Regions from separate parts of the Homo sapiens genome. Here region 2 is linked to region 1. Evidence: promoter capture Hi-C in 16 types of primary human blood cells and fetal thymus (Javierre and others, 2016). All regions are on one chromosome and are shown on one strand. Each heading gives the region's core, a stretch centred on a gene start or on the middle of the fragment in contact. The rest is flanking DNA. Distances are from core to core; before and after follow the strand shown.

What was found. The method cuts DNA at HindIII sites, captures the fragments that hold promoters and counts their contacts. A CHiCAGO score of 5 or more calls a contact.
Region 2: a fragment that was not itself captured here is called in contact with the fragment with the promoter of SERPINB5 in region 1 in 3 of 17 cell types (total CD8 T cells, activated CD4 T cells and M2 macrophages); the score reaches 6.0 in total CD8 T cells.

What each region holds. Positions count from the first base shown.
Region 1 is chr18:63,475,324-63,479,404 of GRCh38, forward strand. It overlaps SERPINB5 (serpin family B member 5), which reads left to right and starts at 1,635. Exons shown (of 7, transcript NM_002639.5): 1 at 1,635-1,722. RefSeq lists an enhancer at 384-1,583. The HindIII fragment of the contact is 5,766 bases long and covers 461-4,081 here.
Region 2 is chr18:62,642,841-62,647,152 of GRCh38, forward strand. No RefSeq gene overlaps it. Among named protein-coding and RNA genes, the nearest start is that of PHLPP1, 71 kb to the right of the region's middle. The HindIII fragment of the contact is 3,728 bases long and covers 1-3,558 here.

The DNA of each region.
Region 1 (4,081 bases), core at 385-2,884:
CATCCATCTCTGTCTATATCTCATTTTATCGATCTTATTGACAAATGAGAACTATATATAGATCTCATTTTACAGATGAGGAATCTGAAGATAAAGGGATTAAGCAATTTGCTCAGGATTTCTCAAGCAATGAGTGGTTAGACTTAGTTTGCAAATTTATGACTCTGCTCCCAAATTCTCATTTTCCCTCCTACAGCTGGATAATAGAATTTTTAAGAAGCATCCTTCCACACCTCCTCACCTATGACCTTCCCTCCACTTGCTCCACTGATGCCTAAAATTCTGTTTTTGGAGTTCACTTAGTTTATGACTTTGATTCTGGTTAACATTAAAATACCCAGGACATGGGGGAGGGGAAGCTGTTATCAATCTTAGTTTAGTCAGTTAATATAGCGAGTTGCTCTTATTCATTACTCAACAAGCACTTATTGACTGCATACTGTACATCAGGTCTGTACCAAGCTTTGGTGTTATAAAAATGAATGAAGTTTGGCACTTACCTTTAACATTGTTGTAGTCACATATAGGAGAATGTAAGAGATTATTATGAAACAATGTAGTAAATGTACAATAGGGAATTCTAGATAAGCACAGCAGAGAAGCAACCAGCTCCGTTTCAGGTCCTTTCCTGAGACTGATTCGGCTGGAAGGGAGTAGGTCCCGCCAAATGAAGAAGCTGTGGGAAGACAGGAGGACAAGAACAGGCTCCACGAAGAGATTTCAGAGCAGAGCTGCGTACTCCTTTTTCTTTTTGTTTCTTTTGCTCTGTCACCCAGGCTGAAGTACAGTGGTTAGCTCACGGCTCACTGCAGCTTTGACCTCCCAGGCTCAAGTGATCCTCTCGTCTCAGCTTTCCAAGTAACTGGGACCACAGGCATGCATCACCACACTAGGCTATTGTTTTACATTTTTTGTAGAGATGGGGTCTCACCATGTTGCCCAGGTTGGTCTCAAACTCCTGGGCTCAAGCAATCCGCTCACGTCAACCTCCCCAAATGCTGGGATTACAGGCGTGAGCCACCGCGCCAGGCCTGAGTAATCCTAATCACAGGATTTTAAAAAGAAACTTCCTGCGCCACCCATTAAACAATATCTCCTACCAATTTGGTAGTAAATATTTTGCTAATAGTACCTAATTTTTAGGTAGGCACTGTGTTTATACATATATCCATTCCTTCTTTTTTGATTGTCTTTCTGTTTAATGGGCAGCTACCTCTCTTGGCATCTAGCAGAATGAGCTGCTGCAGTTTACACAAAAAGAATGGAGATCAGAGTACTTTTTGTGCCACCAACGTGTCTGAGAAATTTGTAGTGTTACTATCATCACACATTACTTTTATTTCATCGAATATTTCACCTTCCGGTCCTGCGTGGGCCGAGAGGATTGCCGTACGCATGTCTGTACGTATGCATGTAACTCACAGCCCCTTCCTGCCCGAACATGTTGGAGGCCTTTTGGAAGCTGTGCAGACAACAGTAACTTCAGCCTGAATCATTTCTTTCAATTGTGGACAAGCTGCCAAGAGGCTTGAGTAGGAGAGGAGTGCCGCCGAGGCGGGGCGGGGCGGGGCGTGGAGCTGGGCTGGCAGTGGGCGTGGCGGTGCTGCCCAGGTGAGCCACCGCTGCTTCTGCCCAGACACGGTCGCCTCCACATCCAGGTCTTTGTGCTCCTCGCTTGCCTGTTCCTTTTCCACGCATTTTCCAGGATAACTGTGACTCCAGGTAAGCAAGGTGGGGTAGCAGGGCTGGTGACTTCCTTTTTTCAGGGAAATTCATAAATATCGTTATTTGAGCTGATTTGAGATGGTGAACAAAATGGACTTAGGTCCATTTTGGGGCTGTTTTCAAAGACGGGCTGTTGGGTTGAGTACTGTCGCCTCTCATCCCCCATGTTGGCAGTATTTCCAGCTCCCAACCCTTTGAGCACCAGGAACACTGCAGAGGGAGTAAAATCACTTAACCATACAAGGTAAGAATATGAAGAAGTCACGTGGCTCGGAGGTTTTGGTGGTAGAGGGGTGCAACCGTGATTCACGGAGGAGAAAATACTTCTGAGGACATTTTCAGGCCTACTTTGGAACTCAGAATGAATTTTGCAATGCTAGTTTCAGAAAGGGTGTGGTACCCGCAAACTGGGGAAAGTTGAGAAGTATTGGTGGGTCTGGCTGGCTCTTCTCCCTGGCTGACGTTGTAAGGCTGAGATTTAGGCATATGGACTGCCCTTCTTTTTGGCATTTTTAAGCATCAGATCGCTGTTCATCTACTTGCAACTGCATTCTTCTAAGCGGAAATTATTCTCCCTTCAGTTTTCTGGGTTTCAGCATAACTTTAAACAAGTTACACATTTCAGATGCATATTCTTGGACTTATAAATTGTAATAGCTGCTTGTAGTTTCTTACTCATATGCTGTACACTTTTTCTTATGGCTTCATTTAAGCATATCATACTAAAAACCAACATGCCAGGCTATTCCAGAGACTTGTAACCAGATCCTCAGAGCTGGGGGCTCTTAGACATATTTCAGCCCAGCCCCCTCATTCTGTAGATGAGGAGCAGAACTCACAGAGGTGATCTGGTGTCCAAAGGCACACAGCTTGTAAGTAGCACCGCTGAGATCAAATCAGGCCTTCACACTTGCAGCTCGGGATGTTTCCACAACACCGTGGGTTCTGTTACCATCTTTTTCATCCCCTACATCTCCCGGGAGGTTTTCGATAATGGGTTCCAAACCTCAGTCCCTGTCAGTTAGTGTAAGTGTTCGATGAGTTCCTTCATGGGTGGAGATGAAGCCTGTCTGAGGAAAGGAGTCTCCAAAGGAAATGAGTCAGCAGGTTTATATCTTTGCTTCCTAACGCCTTGAATTGTGCCACTTCAATCCCTCTGGGTTGTGGATTGACTTTGGGGCTATGCAGTCTCAGCGATTTGGGCCATTCTGGTGTGGCTGAGTCTGGCTGTAAGTTTACTGCTTGGCAACAGTGGGCTGGGTCAGTGGTCAAGATCAGGCTTCTAAAGAGACAGGAGCAGCTATGATGCTTCAGAGCAAAGCAGACGCCCCCCTGCCATGGGAAATTAAAGCAATTACTAATAGCTGTATTGTACTTTCTTGCCCACAAAGCACTTTTCATATACATTGATTCACTTAATCACTTCGTTTAGTCCTCATAGTCTTTCACATTGCAGAAACTTCAAAATATCCTATTTTCTTAATCCTGCACATCCTTTGCTCCTCAAAGACTTAGAATGTGGACAACAGAGGTTGTGTTTTTTGGCATTCCATTACTGATATTATAATAGGCAAGGTTTCTCATGGCATTCCCTAAGGACTGGTTATACCAAATACTTGAGAGATGTTTTTCACCATGTCTTTCCATCTTTAAAATGAGGCAGGCCAGGCTAAATGATATCTACGATACTCTGACACAGTAAAAACGTAGTTTTTTTTTTTTTTTTCTTGAGATGGAGTCTTGCTTTGTCACCCAGGATGGAGTGCAGTGGCACGATCTTGGCTCACCGCAACCTCACCCTCCCAGGTTCAAGTGATTTTTCTGTCTCAGCCTCCCAAGTAGCTGGGATGACAGGCACGTGCCACCACGCCCGGCTAATTTCTATATTTTTGGTAGACACAGGGTTTCACCATGTTGGCCAGGCTGGTCTCGAACTCCTGACCTCAAGTGATCTGCCCGCCTTGGCCTCCCAAAGTGCTGGGATTACAGGTGTGAGCCACTGTACCCGGCCAAAAGTTAAGGTTTTAAGGGATGAAAAAACTATACTCATAGCTCTGTTTAAATATGCACGCCCGTGATGTGTGGGTGAAGAGTGTGGTTGATGGTCTATAAGTAAAATGAACATATATTGTTCAAATCAGGATATGTTTGAGAGTAAACGGGGCACTGTTATCAATGTCAAGACAACAGACATAAACCAGGATTGTCCCAGGCAAAGTGGGATGTATATATCCTACCCACAGGACTTTTTTCTCACCTAAATGGTCTAAAGACAAAAAATGTGAGGACCATTGGCTCAGATGCATAAAAAACTTAGGAAATCTTCATACAAAGACCAGTGACAAGCTATAAGTCT
Region 2 (4,312 bases), core at 445-2,944, 830 kb before region 1:
ATGCTCCAAACTGGAAATAGCCCAAATATCATGTGAGTAGAAGGAATAAATAAATAGTGGTCTATTTCTATAATGGAAAACCATACAGCAATTGAAATGAACAACTATAGCTTCATGCAACAATATGATGAATTCTCATAAAATGAGCTTGAGCAAAAAAGCCACATGCAAAAGAGTACACACCGTATGATCCCATTTATATGAAATGTAAAGCAAGTGACCTGCCCCCATGGCCTATTTGGGCATCTGGCAGGCAGGAGATTCAGTTGTGGAGGTGAATTCAGTCCTCTGGAGGCCCCAGTGGTGACGGCTCCTTGACCTTTAGGAACCTGGCAGTGCTAAGCCATCTGAATAAGATCATCTGAACAAGCACTGTTTGGAAATTCTTGTTTATATTAGGTTCTTGGCTTCTTTGAACACGTCTGTATTCAGAGGCAGTCCTCCATAAAACTCCGTAAAACTCAGCAATAGGATAATAGAAGGAAAGGTATTCCCTTTGATTACCTTTCAGAGCTGAATAATGGCCCGGGAAAGCTCACTGTTCAGCTTTCTTTCTAAACTGCCCAGCAGGAACCAGGCCCAAGGGTGGGGTTAGCACTTCCTCACATAATACAGGCCCTTTCAAGAAAGAATTTAAGGGAGTTTGGGCTGTTTTACAAGACTTAAGTCCTGAGAACAATTTCATAGAAGGTTGTAACTGACGGCTGTGCAAATGAAAGGTTTTGGAACGGGTCCTCCCTTAGGGAAAGCAGGGACACTGCTCCCGACTAGGGATCAGGCACCAGGTACAGGCAAAACCACTGCTTGCCTGGATGGGTACATTCCACTGAGTCCCCACATCTGAAAGAAACAAGGTGATTAAGAATCTCTGTGTTCAGTCCCAAACTATTTTACAGAAAAGTAAGTTTGGGGCTGGCATGGTGGCTCACACCTGTAATCCCGCCATTTTGGGAGGCTGAGGCAGGTAAATCTCCTAGCTCAGGAGTTCGAGACCAGCCTGGGCAACATGGAGAAACCCAGTCTGTACCAAAAATATAACAAATTAGCTGGCCATGATGGTGGGTACCTGTAGTCCCAACTACTCAGGAGGCTGAGATGGAAGGATTGCTTGGGCCTCGGACGCAAAGGTTGAAGTGAGCCGAGATTGCACCACGGCACTGCAACCTGGGTGAAAAAGTGAGACCCCATCTCAAAAAAAACAAAATTGGAGAATGAAAGTCACTGGGTGATGTAGACTTTCTCACATCTTCCACATGTAAGAAGTGGCCAAGTCTAGTAAAATGCATGCTCACCTGATACAGGGTGTGGGTTCCCAACAATCAGCCTCACCCATTTAACGCAGATGCTCCCTGACTTAGCCATAGGGCTATATCCAGATAAACTCAGCCTTAGTCAAAAATATCGTAAGTTGAAAATGCATTTACTATCCCAACAAACCCATTGTAAAGTCAAAAAATCCTAACTCAAGCCATGGTAATGATAGAGACAGGAGGCAGAGAAATTCTAGGCAGAAAAGGGTGGGGTCCCTGGTGAGAGCCCCACCTTCAAACCTGGAACCATGGCCCAAAGTGAGAACTTTACATCCCCAATTTCCTGCTCCAATGTTGCCTCTTCCAAAACCACCCCTGGCCCGCCCCCCATCCTGTACCCATAAAAACCCCAGGCTCCACTGGCAGAGGGCAGAGAAGCAGGGAAGGAGAGAAGAGAAGAAGCTGATGAATGTTGGAGAGAAGCAGTTTGACTTCAGAGGGATGGCTTGACGGTGGAATTTCAAAGAGTCTAGCCACAAACACAAATGGCCAGACTTCAGGGGAAGATTACCTTCCCACTCCATCCTCTTTCCAGCTCCCCTTCCTGCTAAGAACCACTTCCACTGGCAATAAAATCCCCCATGTTTACTATCCTTCAATTCATTCGTATGACCTGATTTTTCCTGGACACCAGACAACAGCTTGGGGTACAGAAAGCTGTCACAGTGACCCTCTGCCCTCGTGAAAAGGCAGAGGGTCCACTGAGCTGTTAAACACTTAAGCCGTCTGTGGACAGCCAAGCTCAAAGCGCTGCCTGTAATACATGCCCTCTGGGGCTTCAAGGGTCATGGGTACCACCCCCTGCAAGATGCTGCCGTGGGGCCTGCATGGAGTTTTGCACCTGCCAGCGCCTGAAAGCATTAACTCCAGCTCCTGCACCCACTCACCTGTGTGCTCCTCTTCCCACGAGGGGTTGAAAGCTGCAGGCTGAGTAAATGAGGCATCCTTGTCACAAGGCCCATGAAAGGGTCAGGGAAAATTTCCATTTTCAGTTAAGTTGGGACCATCTGGACTGCTTTTTGGCAGCTGGGCTGCCAACATACTCTTCTCAGACAGTTCTCTCTGCTGCCTCTCTTCTCTCTTTCCCAGGCCTGATTTATTCTGGATGGTTCAAGTTCCATCTGAGTACAATGTTCTCTAGAGTGGTCTATGGGGAGGCGGAGGCAAAGAGGATCACTTGAGGCCAGGAGTTCAAGACCAGCCTGCGCAACAGTAGTGCCACTCCTTCTCTACAAAAAATAAACATAAATTAGCAGGATGTGGTAGTGAGCATCTGCAGTCCCAGCTACTCGGGAGGCTGAAGCAGGAGCATTACTTGAACCCACACTTCAAGGCTGCAGTGAGCTATGATTGCACCACTGTACTCCAACCTGGGTGACAAGATACAGAGACCCTGTCTCTAAAAAAAAAAAAAAATACATATATATATATATATATATATATATATATATATATAGAGAGAGAGAGAGAGAGAGAGAGAGAGAGAGAGGACCAGGAGCAGTGGTGCACAACTGTAATCCCAGCACTGTGGGAGGCTGAGGTGGGTGGATCACCTGAGGTCAGGAGTTCGAGACCAGCCTAACATGGTGAAACCCCGTCTCTACTAAATACAAAAAATTAGCTGGGCATGGTAGTGCATGCCTATAATCCCAGCTACTCAAGAGGCTGAGGGAGGAGAGGCACTTGAACCTGGGAGGCGAAGGTTGCAGTGAGCTGAGATCATGCCATTGCACTCCAGCATGGGCAATAAGAGCGAAACTCTGTATCAAAAAATAAAAATAGAGTGTCTAGATATTTCTCCTGGAGATTAATTCACTTTCTTCCCTATTTATATAGTCATCTCATAGAATGTCATGTTGTTCCATGTTGTTGCAGAAAGACTACAGATTTACCTGCTTTTCCAGATTTGTTGGTAGTGTTTTCTACAATGCTGATCCTAACCCAAATTGTGATGGGAGACAGAGTTTTCTCTGGAGTCCCCTCTCTACTCTTTATTGTAGTCTCCATCCCATATTTTGGATCTTAAGCTGTTTCCCAAACAAAATCCTTTTCAAGACAAAATTTGAAACCAACTCATCCCAAGCGTAAGTGGTTGTCAACAACTATCAGCTCAACTTGTTAACTCTACCATTTTGAAAGAGGCAGAGTCTGAAAGCAAAGGCCTCATGCACTTAAATTAGAGAATAGGGATATTATTCACTTTTAAGGAATAGTAAACAAGGAAGAGAGAGAGTTTGTTGCTCAAAGAAGCTTTCCTGGTGCCCCAGAAATCACATTAAATAACCAAATGGCAGTTTGTAATGTTCCCTGCATTCCCTATTTTAATATCTCAGAATTGGCAAATGGGGATTTAAAACAATAATGACCGTTGATTCATTAGCTGATTCAATTCGTTTCCAGACATTATAAGACCTCCCTCAACCCTCAATAAAACAACAAGCAATTTAAACCCCATATTACCCAAACATCATATCTTTCCTTATGAGAAAAAAATACGCTTATAAATGGAAAGGATAGTTTTTTTTTCTTACTCAATCCTTTAAAGTGTCTACCATAGCAAGATGAACAGTGTAAGCATTCAATGACTTTATTGGGTAAATATCAGAGTTTTACCTATTAATGCATTCCCAGAGATAGCCTTGATGTCAGTCTTAACAGTGTATTATTTGTTTAGTTATTTATTTTTTAGATGGAGTCTTGCGCTCTTGCCCAGGCTGGAGTGCAATGGCACAATCTCAGCCCACTGCAACCTACACCTCCTTGGGTTCATGCAGTTCTCCTGCCTTGGCCTCCCAAGTAGCTGGGATTACAGACTTGCACCACCACAGCCGGCTAATTTTTGTGTTTTCAGTAGAGACGGGGTTTTGTCACGTTGGCCAAGCTGGTCTCAAACTCCTGACCTCAAGTGATCCATCTGCCTTGGCCTCCCAAAGTGCTGAGATTACAGGCATGAGCCACCATGCCCAGCCAACAGTGTATAATTAGTAATGTATATCAGCTGA